3 separate regions of the Homo sapiens genome follow, and all the other regions are linked to region 3. The links are contacts of gene promoters, found by promoter capture Hi-C in blood cells and fetal thymus (Javierre and others, 2016). All regions are on one chromosome and are shown on one strand. Each heading gives the region's core, a stretch centred on a gene start or on the middle of the fragment in contact. The rest is flanking DNA. Distances are from core to core; before and after follow the strand shown.

Region 1 (3,556 bases), core at 467-2,966, 2.1 Mb before region 3:
GTTTGGTGACTACAGTTCCTTATCACACAATCAACATGTATTTCTTGAATGCTGCCCATGTGCTCTCCACTGTGTGTTGTGGTTTTTTTTTAATCTAAGGTACTGCTCCTCAAAGAATACACAATCAACTTGAAAAGATATGGCTAACACTAGGGAAATAACTATCAAACAACTAAAGCATGGCATATAATTAAACCATGTGAAAATGTTCTAAGACTAAAGAGCTACAGAAATAGAGGAAAAAAAAGAGGGATGGAGAACATGGGCAAAAATTAAAGGATAGAAGAAGCATAGCTTATTATTAGAAAGTGTGGAAATCAGCTTACAAGCTTAAGGACTAGAGATCCTTAGACAAAAGACTAAATAAATAGGGCAGGGATTGATAATAGACTATCTTAAAAGTCAGGAAAATTTAATAAGTAGAAAATGGTAAGCCACTGAAGGTTTTGGGGCAAGGGAATGCTATAATAAGGAGTATTAGAGTGGAATCTCTATTGAGGATAAACAGAAGGAAGGGACACTGAATTCTCAGAAGTTCAAATGACTTTCAATATTCTAGGCTCAGGAAATGTGTCCTGGGATTCACACAGTAAAGGAGGGAAAGCAGAGATATGAGAAAGAAAGGAAATATGGACATTTTGAATGGGAATAAGAGGTAAATGAAAGAAGTAGTTTAAAGATGATGCCTAATTTAAAGCCTACATGATTAGAAGAAAATTAAGGGGTAGAAAATGGTAACTTTCACTTGGGGCATTCGGAGTTTAAGGAGATGAACAGAAGTAGAAGCAGAAGACCAGTACAGGAAAAACCAGGAAGTGACTAGTACAACAAGTTAGCAATAGGATTAGTTTTAAAATGAAAGAACTGGGCAGAAGTTATAAACATATTACATAGGAGAGGAAATATATTAAGCCATGATCAGCTGGTACTAGCTTTATATCAATAATTTTATCAGAAAAGCAAACTAAAAGCTAAGGCAGAGGTTTCCAAACCCATTCAGGGAGCTCTGAGTCTTAGCAAATTTTTCACGACACCCCCAGGCCAAAAGAAATAGGTTTGAACAACTTACTTAGTAGTTATGTCCTTACAACTTAGTGTAGAGCACTGTAGAACTTATCAAACCTTAGAATCAAATTGGACAATACCACACTGTCATTTCCTGTTCTACATTCATTTTCATGTAGTAGTTGCTTTTTATCGGAGCAACCTCTGAAAATACATCTTTACAAAGACATGACATTGTAGAAACGGGTGTAGGTATCTAATATTGAAACCATGAACCAACTCAAAACACAAGTTCAAGCCTGAGGTGCTCTGGGCACCTTGGCACACAGTTTGGGAAACTGGGAGCTAAGAGGAGGGGTCTAAAAGGGAGTGGGGAAGGGTGGGAAATGTAATGGGAGAAGAGCAAAAGAAAGGTCTTAGCACAGTTAACCACAAGGGGGCAGCACAATAATTGGTAGGGGCAACACAATGGGGGTTTAAGCAGAGACACAAAGTCAAACCTTTCCATACAAAGGCTGTAATACTCCCTCACCAGTTTAAGACCTTGAAGTCCTTTATCTCTTTATACTAGAAAGGAGGAAACACGAGTTACAGGCAGATCACCTTATGCAGTCATTCTGCCCTTCTCTGAATCTCCTTTGCCTCCCAGCCGTGATAGTAGCCAAGACTTTTATGACAGCCAGGCAGTTTACCACTTTGCATGTGTCTTACTCACTTCTCACAACAATCTTATAAGAAAGTGAAGCTAAAAGAGTCGTAAATAATATAACTCTTTTTTTCTTTCTTTTTTTTTTTTTTTTTAGACAGAGTCTTGCTGTGTTGCCCAGCCTGGAGTGCAGTGGTGAGATCTCGGCTCACTGCAACCACCACTTCCCAGGTTCAAGCAATTCTCCTGCCTCACCCTCCCGAGTAGCTGGGATTACAGGTGTGCACCACCACGCCCGGCTAATTTTTGTATTTTTAGTAGAGATGGGGTTTCACCATGTTGGCCAGGCTGGTCTCAAGCTCCTCACCTCAAGTGATCCTCCTTCCTCAGCCTCCCAAAGTGCTGGGATTACAGGCGTGAGCCACCATGACCAGCCGTAAATAATGCAACTCTTAAGTGGCAAGAACACCAGGATTCAAATCCAGATCTCACTCCAAAGCCAATGCACTTTCCTATTCTGCCTCAAAAGCATCCCACCTTTCAGTAATAGCCAGGTGAAAGAGAAACAATGTCATATTCCCTTCCCATATCTGAGACACCTGTCTCAAATCACCAAAGGCACACACACACAAAATTCCCTAATGAGTCCCTAAAACTGCTATAAATTGCAAATACAGGATATTCAGTTAGAGCAAAAACAAGCATGGTGTGCTCTTCTGGCCAGCAAGTACTGCAGCTTTCCTATTCAGGTAAATACATGTACTATTAAGGCAAGTGCTGGATACATCCAGTCTGTACATACGTTACACACCAACAGACAAATGCATGTACAAGCAAATAATTCTCACACTTAAAGTGGTATAAGGTGAGGCGGATGGGGGAAGGGAGGCCAAAAATTGATTATTCATCTTCAAATGTTCTGGGTGTTATATCAAAATACAAGCTGATCATCCCTTATCTGAAAAGCTGCAAAATCTGAAACATTTTGAGCACCAACATGATGCTACAAGGGGAAAATTCCCCGCATAGGTACTTAATACAAACTTTGTTTCATGCACAGACGTATTAAAAATATTGCAAATGACTTAGTGGCTGTGTGAATAAGGTCTATATGAAACAAACGAATTTCGTATTTACACTTGGGTCCCATCCTCAAGATGTCTGATTTTGTATATGCAAACATTCCAAAATTTTTAAAAAAAATCCAAAACACTTTTGGTCCCAAGCATTCTGGAGAAGGGATACAAAATCTTTATTTGCAGTAGCCCAACAACTCACTGTACAAACTTATTATGAAACCAAAAGCAATCATTTCCCTTATTCCCACTTCCAGTTTCCTTCTCCATACTCAGCCGCTCCTACCCTTTCATTCAGAGAAATGGAGTTTCTCCTAACAGATTAGTAATTACTGGAAAACAAACTGGGTAAATTCAACCGACACAGCAAGCTTAGGCAGATAAAACCATGAGGAAACATTCAATGTGGTAGCAGAAACCCCAGCAAGAATAGCTAACGTGTTCTCCCAAAAGCTATCTCTTATTGCTTGGAAATACTCCTCTTTAAAGGATTAAGAATCTCTGGCTGCTTAAGAAGAAAGGGTAATGGACAACGTTTTTCGTTTCTCTGCAAAGTCACGTTATGTGTAAAGCCAACAAAAAAATGTTTCTTAAAGGATCCAAGACGAACAACAAAACACCCCAAAATTACTCTCCCAGATCAACATTAAAAGTTTAGCACTGACATTTTCAGAAGAGTAAGCAACAATGAGCCCTGCCTCTCTTCACACGCTTCCAACCTTCCCTACGCACGCACTCCCAGCTCCAGACACCTTCGCCTTTACTGCAGCGATAAAGGACAGCACACCCACCGTCGCGGGAGGAGGAGGAAGAGCCTCTTTTTCTGCAG
Region 2 (3,721 bases), core at 920-3,419, 2.8 Mb before region 3:
ATTTTGGATGACATGGAAAGCACAGGTGACAAAAGCAAAAATAAACAAGTAGGATTACATGAAATTAAGTTATTGTACAGTAAAGAAAACAATCAACAAGATAAAAAAGCAACCTATGGAATAGGAGAAAATATCTGCAAACCATACATCTAAAAGGGGGCTAATATTCAAGATATGTAAGGAACTCATACAACTCAGTACCGAGAAAAAAACAAAACAGATAACCTAATTTAAAAATGGACAAGAGATCTGAACAGATGTTTTACCAAAAAACAGCCAATGGCCAATAGGTGCTCAATACACTAATCATCAGGGAGATGCAAATCAAAACCATAAGATACCTCACACCTGTTAGGATATCTATTATCAAGAAGTTAAATCATAACAAGGTCGGCAAAGACGTGGAGAAAAGGGATCCCCTCCCTGTACACTATTGACGGGACTGCAAAATGGTACAGTCATGATGGAAAACAGAAGTTCCTCAAACTAAAAACAGGACTACCACATGATCCAACAATCCTACTTCTAGGTATATATCCAAAGGAATTGAAATCAGTATCTCAAAGAGATATCTGCACTTTCATATTCATTGCAGCATTATTCAAAGTAGCCAAGATACAGAAACAACCTAAGTGTCTGTCAATAGATGAATGGATAAAGAAAATGTAACACACACACATACACACATAAAATATTATTCAGCCTTTAAAAAACAAGGAAATCCTGCCATCTGCAACAACATGGACAAAACTTAAGGACAGTATACTAAGTAAGCAAGACAAAAAACAACTTCATGATCTCATATATGGAATATAAAGACGTCAAATTCATAGGAACAGAGAATAGAACGATGATTACCAGGGGCTGGGAGGTGGGTGAAATGGGAGTATTTCAGTCAAAGGTACAAATTTTCAGGTATAAGATGAATACGTTCTGGGGACCTAATGCATGGCCCAGTAACTATCGTTAATAATGACATTTATTTCCATAATTAACATATATTGTATACTTGAAATTTGCTAAGAGAGTAGGTCTTAAGTGTTCTCATCCCACATACAAAAAAAGAGGGAGCTGTGTGAGATGGTGGATCTGTTAATTAGACTGATTGTGATTATCAACTCACAGGGTAGATCTAAGTATCGCACAGCACACCTTAAATATATACAATTTTTATTTGTCAATTATACCTCAACAAAGCTGGCAGTAGTGGGGAAGCAGTAGTTCATCAGAAAAATGAACACTTATGGTTACGGTAGGTAAAGAATGACTCATAAAGAAAGGATTTCAACAGCAGTTAAAGGATAGATAATACTCTGACAGGCAGAAATGAGGCAAGAGAGCATTCCAAGAAGGGAGTGTCTGTGATATCAAACTAAGGAGTTTGAACTCCATTCTTTCATCAACAGTGAACCCTAGAAGACTTCAGAGCAGTGAATTTATAAAGAAGGCTCTCTGGAGAAAGTAATAGAGTTAAAAGGGTGAGAAATGGGAATGCTGGGAAAATACAAATAAAATGGTCTTCCTGAGGTCAACACAGTTAATCACATACCTGATCCAAAGCTTGGTTCTTTTGACATATCATTGTTTTTTTCCATGATTAGCACATACCAATGGGAACTAAGTTTTTGCTCAGGATTACTAAACGACATATAATTTATTTTATAAGCCTAGTAATTATTTGCCCATTTCAGCTTTTTATTAGCTACCTACAACAGTGATATCTCACAAGATTTATATTAACACACTAACATCTAACACACTAACATATAACATGTCTCTTCATCCCTTTTATACACATCTGTCTTTTACAGTTGATGTTCAAAAATACTTCTGAAGCTAATTTAAATGTTTAAAGTCGGTGACCTGAAAAACGAGAATGTCTATACATCTAATTTAGAATGGCTAAATTCAAAGATACCATTCTGATGTTCACATATATAGACTTTCATAGTCACAGTTAGTATATTAAAGGAATAATTCTGGGCCCTCAGTACAGTACAAAATGTAATTCATCTCACACTACACCTACGTCAATCATAAATCATAACCTACCTTATGCAACAGTTTCATCCTCAAAGCTGAAACTAGTCCTTTTACAATAACCTTAGCAGAAATGTACCAACTGCCCCCAGTCAAGTTCTACCTCTACCACCCCAATCTAGCCTACACATACTGAGCCTTTTTTTAACACCATTTGGGGGGCTCCAAAATATAATATTGGGGCTCCAATATAAAAAAGCTAAGTAACTATCTAGAGGCTCTTTTGTTCATAAACAACACTATACTGTATTTCTCAAATTTGGGGTAGGAAATAATTCTGAAGAGATATGAGTCTAAACAGTGGAATTCCGAATACCTACTTAGAATAGAGGACAGTAGGTATAAGTAGTACATAAAAGTTCATTAGAAGACCCATATAATGTACAGTTAGAGATTTTAATAGAGATTCAGTCTTATGAATTATCACTGTACACATACAATTTCCACAATTCTTTTGAACATTGAAACAACCAGCTTAGACTACTAAACGACTGTCCCTTCCACAAGGCTAGTTGTCTCTTTTTAAAATATATCACTCCTAAGAGAGCCTGATTTACTAAGTGAGCCCTAACAAAATTTCAGGTAAGCAAATCTTGTTTTATCATCTCTACGAGCATGTCTCCCTGCCTTCAAATGCCCTCAAGCAGCTGTAAGACTTCAACTCTGTAAAATCCTGTAGATCTTCACATATTATTATAAAACTACTTGTATCTACAGCCTCTCAAAAATCAAAGCTTTTAGCAGCTCCATGAGAACTTTTTAAACCAATTCACTCTAAATTATGGAAGTATAACTGATAGCCCTTTAATTTACCTAAAGGCATTTTCACTTTTAAATGAAGTTTGTTAACCTAATTAACTTACATACTTTCAGGAAGTTTACAAATTAGAAAATCAAAATGAAAACTTTCATACAGAGTAAGAAAGGGCATATCCCAGGAAGAGAAGATTGGAAGCTGGAGTCTAGCATATGTATCCCACTCACCTAGGCATGTAATCATACACCTTATAATCACTTGGTTCAATATTTGATTTTTTTTTTTTTTTTTTTTTGAGACAGAGTCTTGCTCTGTCGCCAGGCTGGAGTGCAGTGGTGGGATCTTGGCTCACTGCAACCTCTGCCTCTTGGGTTCAAGCGATTCTCCTGCCTCAGCCTCCCGAGTAGCTGGGGCTATAGGCGTGCACCACCACGCCCAGCTATTTTTTTGTATTTTTAGTAGAGACGGGATTTCACCATGTTGGCCAGGATGGTCTCGATCTCTTGACCTCGTGAATATCTGATTTTTTTCAGTGACAACAAAGCTGGTGCCCAGAGACCAAGGTTAACCACTCATACTACAGTACTATACAGCCTCCTCTAAGGTATTCCTGCATTTCATTTCACTCCAGACCTCTAAACCCATGGGTTCCCTACAGCCTAACTTTTGCACAACAGAACTTAATAGTAGGGGTCCCTGGACTTCTGTGGAAAAAGGAAGTTGCATGTGAGGTGGGAATTTGAAAGAAGAGTATGAATAGTTTAAATTCCAGAACTGCCTTGGATTTCTAGATGTCGTATGTAACTCCAAAACCAAACAATAGACATGCTTAAGAATATTCACAATGTCCCTAAATTAAAGCATATGTTTATGCTTCTCTTATGGGGGAATAAAGTGGTTTACAGGCTTCTGGTCAATTCATAG
Region 3 (3,653 bases), core at 1,147-3,646:
AGGTGTGAGCCACAGCGCCCGGCCCCAAAGTATTTCAAATGGGTACACCTTGGTTCTCTCTTAAGCTACAAATCACTCAACATTTACTACTGGCTAAGAACTTTAAGATATTATCACTTTTAAGCCTCACAGCAACTCCAGAAACAAGTGTTGTTATTCCCATTTTACATATGCAGAAACTGAGGCCCATACAAGTTGGCTATCTTGTCCTTGGCCATACAGAATTTAGATTGTAAGCCAGGTTCCTTTGATTCTAATCTCAATGCTCGTCATTGCATTGCTATAGTACTGTTATTAACCTCTTGGATGTGTGCAAGTCTAGTTGCTCTGATTAAATTGTGTATCACGCAAGAAGAGCATCTTAGGCTTGTAGGAGTACACCTAGTGGTCTACATTTAGATCATTAGATATTTGAAGAATTAATGGGTTTGCTTGACAAAAAAAAAAATTACAGGATAAGCTTTTTTTGTGCTGTTCTGCAAAACCACACGATGCTTTCAATTCACTCCAAAAAAAAAAAAAAAATCCAAATCAATCCACTTTCACAGAAGACTTGATAAAAAAGTTTTTAATAATAATCAAGGGCTTTGATATGTGATAACATTTTTTTTTTCCTCCCTGGTGAAAAGGCAAATGAATAGCAGGGTTTTGGTGCAGATGCTTAAGGCAACTGCATGGACCTATCTTCAAGGATATGGGGTGCTGCTGTCTGTCGAGTTGAAAACACAAACGTATCCCTTCCCAGGGTTGTGTGATAGGGTGTATTTTGCGATTTTTCTTTCTTTTTGGCCAGCATTTACTTGTCAGGTGTTTCAAGGTGTCTAATATCCCCACTACTATGCTATTTGCCCAAAAGGCACAGCTGATGGGCCTCCTGCAATTCCTGTTCCATATTCTCTTCTCTTAGCATTTACTGAATTATTGAAAGCAGTACGGAGGCAGCCACGTTGAGTTTAGAGTCAGGCTCACTGGACCAAAGCTACTATGTTTTGCCTTTCTCTGTAAAATGAGAAAAGACCTATTTAAAACGTTCTTATGAGATTTAAATGAGCTGAAATGTAAACTAGTAACAGTTAAGGTAGACGACAAGAACTTATCAAGTATCTATGTGCTGCATAGTGAGATAAGTGCCTGGAAAGTAATGATGGCCCCTGTCATCAAGAAGCATACAGTCTACTAAATTACCAGTTTCAACTCTAACTCCTTAGTGGCCAGAAAACGGAGTAAGTTGGAAGACAGTAAAATCTGAAGTCTGGCACCAGGGATCAAGTGCCAGTTCCTCAACTTTACAGATGCAGTGGGTTGAATAGTCTCCAAAAGATATGTCTATGTCCTAACTCCCAGGACATGTGAAAGTGACCTTATTTGGGAAAAGGGCCTTTGCAGATGTGATTAAGGACCTCCAGATGAGATGATCTTGGATTATCCCCGTGGACTCTAAATTCAATGTTCAGTGTCCTAAAAACACACAGAGAAGTGGCACAGGCACAGGAGAAGGCCATTAGAAGACAGGCCGAGATTGGAGTCATGCAACAAGAGGCCACGGACCGCCTGGAACCGTTAGAAGCTGAAGAAGCAAAGCATTCTCCCCTAGAGCCTTCAAAAGGTGCAGGGCTCTGCCAACAGCTTGATTTTGGAATTCTTGCCTCTAGAACAGTTAAAGAATAAAATTCTGTTGCTTGACACGAGCAAGTTTGTGGTGTCAGTTTCTTCATCTGGAAAATGGGGCATATATCCTAACCACAATCTTATTTCCTGAAGTATAAAATGGAATAACAGCAGTTTCCAGGCACGAGCAGACACTAAAAATGGCAAACATTTATTGAGAGCGTTCCATGCTAAGCGCTTTGCACGTATCACTTAATTATTTCTATTTTATTGATCAGGAAGCCAAAGCTCATAAAAACTGTAATTTTCCCAGAGCCACACAGCTAGCAAGTGAAAAAAACGGGATTACAATTCAAATCGACTCACAAGATACCCCTTTTATCCTCCACGCTGGACTGCTGAGGAAGTATGCAAATTAACACACTTTAGAAACTTTAGCTACTTCAATATTTGTTCAGGCTACGGGATGCAGGCCTCTTATTAACCGCGCCAGCCAGGTCTGTCCTTCAGCAGCCTGTTCTGCCTCGCAAGAGCTCTCCCTCTCTTTCCAGCACGGAAGCCACAGGGTTAATGACGTCATTTCCCGTGGCCGTTGTCGCGTCCTCCGCCCGACGGATTCTTGCAAGGGCCAAAATCCTCGCGCCTCAAGAGGAGGCATAACAGCAGCGGACCAATAGAAATTCCGAATTTTTGTATTCTCTGGGAAGCTCCACCTCTTAGTCCCTGATCCGCCGCGGAAGATGAAAAAAAGCGGCCCGGGGGCGGAGCAAGGCAAGGAAGCGGAAGCGGAGAGGCGGTCGGGATCCGCTGCGCGAGCTGTCTCGGTCCCACGTGTGCGGTGAGTGTGGCAGGCTCAGCGGTCGCTCTTGGGAGGGGTTCGCACCCTGCCGGGCGCTGGAAGTCGGGAAGGTCTCTCGGGGCTGTTGTCCACTGGGCAGTCTCCTCTGGCCTCTTTCTGGGCTAGGAGTTTGGGACTGACTGGAGCCTGGCAAGAAGGGCGGGACTGGCCGGGCGCGGTGGCTCACGCCTGTAATCCCAGCACTTTGGGAGGCCGAGGCGGGCGGATCACAAGGTCAGGAGATCGAGACCATCCTGGCTAACACGGTGAAACCCCGTCTCTACTAAAACTACAAAAAATTAGCCGGGCATGGTGGCGGGCGCCTGTGGTCCCAGCTACTTGGGAGGCTGAGGCAGGAGAATGGCGTGAACCCGGGAGGCGGAGCTTGCAGTGAGCCAAGATCGTGCCACTACACTCCAGCCTGGGAGACAGAGCAAGACTCCGTCTCAAAAAAAAAAAAAAAAAAAAAAAGAAGGGCGGGACTCCGACCTCTCTCCCACCACGTTGCCCTGCGTGCCGGGTTAGAGTGGACTAGCTTCACTCCGGAATCCCAGCCCGTGCTCGGCCTGATCAGCCTGTCTGTGCTACTTCACAAACCCCAACTCCAGTGCTAGGCGGTTTGCCTGAATGTACGCAGATTCTAAGTGCTGGGAGGAAACGAACTGGATGCTGAGTTGGCAGATAGTGGAGTCTGAAGAAGTGATCTTTAAACGGAGATTTGGAAGCTCAGGGAGTACTTCAAGCAGAGGCGATAATGGGCTAAGTTCCTGAGATGGGAGCTAGGAAGGAGTATAGTTAGAGTACAAGATAAAGTTAGCCGGATAGAGTGGAACTAGGTTCTGTAGGGCCTTGAAGGTCATGATGGGGAATTTTTTTTTCTGTACAATAGGAAAACATTTCCGTTCCTATTACCATGTGTAGAAAACATTGAAGACTTGTAAGCAAGTGAGAATCATGAATAGGCCCTGGTTCTCTTTAGAAAATGTATTACATTTGGAAGCTCAAGAGATTGTATTGGTAATAGTTTGCATTAGGGTGGTGACGTAAGGGACATTTAAGAGAACTAACTTATGGTTCAGCGTGGCAGAGTAGAGAGGAAAATGTCAAGGGTAACTCAGATTTCTTACTTGAGCAGTAAAGTAGATGATGTGCCATTGGCTGAGATGGAGGACGATAGGGCAGGGAAAAATAGTATATTGTTGTTTGT

What was found. Contacts are between HindIII fragments. The CHiCAGO score rates a contact against its expected background, and 5 or more counts as called.
Region 1: a contact is called between a fragment that was not itself captured here and the fragment with the promoter of PUM3 in region 3, in 2 of 17 cell types (fetal thymus and activated CD4 T cells). The highest score is 7.3, in fetal thymus.
Region 2: a fragment that was not itself captured here is called in contact with the fragment with the promoter of PUM3 in region 3 in 1 of 17 cell types (non-activated CD4 T cells); the score reaches 5.0 in non-activated CD4 T cells.

What each region holds. Positions count from the first base shown.
Region 1 is chr9:4,985,985-4,989,540 of GRCh38, reverse strand. JAK2 (Janus kinase 2) reads right to left here. Exons shown (of 25, transcript NM_004972.4): 2 at 3,519-3,556. Among named protein-coding and RNA genes, the nearest start is that of JAK2, 2.5 kb to the right of the region's middle. RefSeq lists an enhancer at 3,467-3,516. The HindIII fragment of the contact is 2,769 bases long and covers 332-3,100 here.
Region 2 is chr9:5,631,057-5,634,777 of GRCh38, reverse strand. The region is part of intron 1 of RIC1 (RIC1 partner of RAB6A GEF complex); the gene reads right to left. Among named protein-coding and RNA genes, the nearest start is that of INCR1, 3.2 kb to the right of the region's middle. The HindIII fragment of the contact is 1,214 bases long and covers 1,563-2,776 here.
Region 3 is chr9:2,842,838-2,846,490 of GRCh38, reverse strand. PUM3 (pumilio RNA binding family member 3) reads left to right here and starts at 2,396. Exons shown (of 18, transcript NM_014878.5): 1 at 2,396-2,446. RefSeq lists enhancers at 2,065-2,304, 2,128-2,422, 2,806-3,367. The HindIII fragment of the contact is 3,665 bases long and covers 463-3,653 here.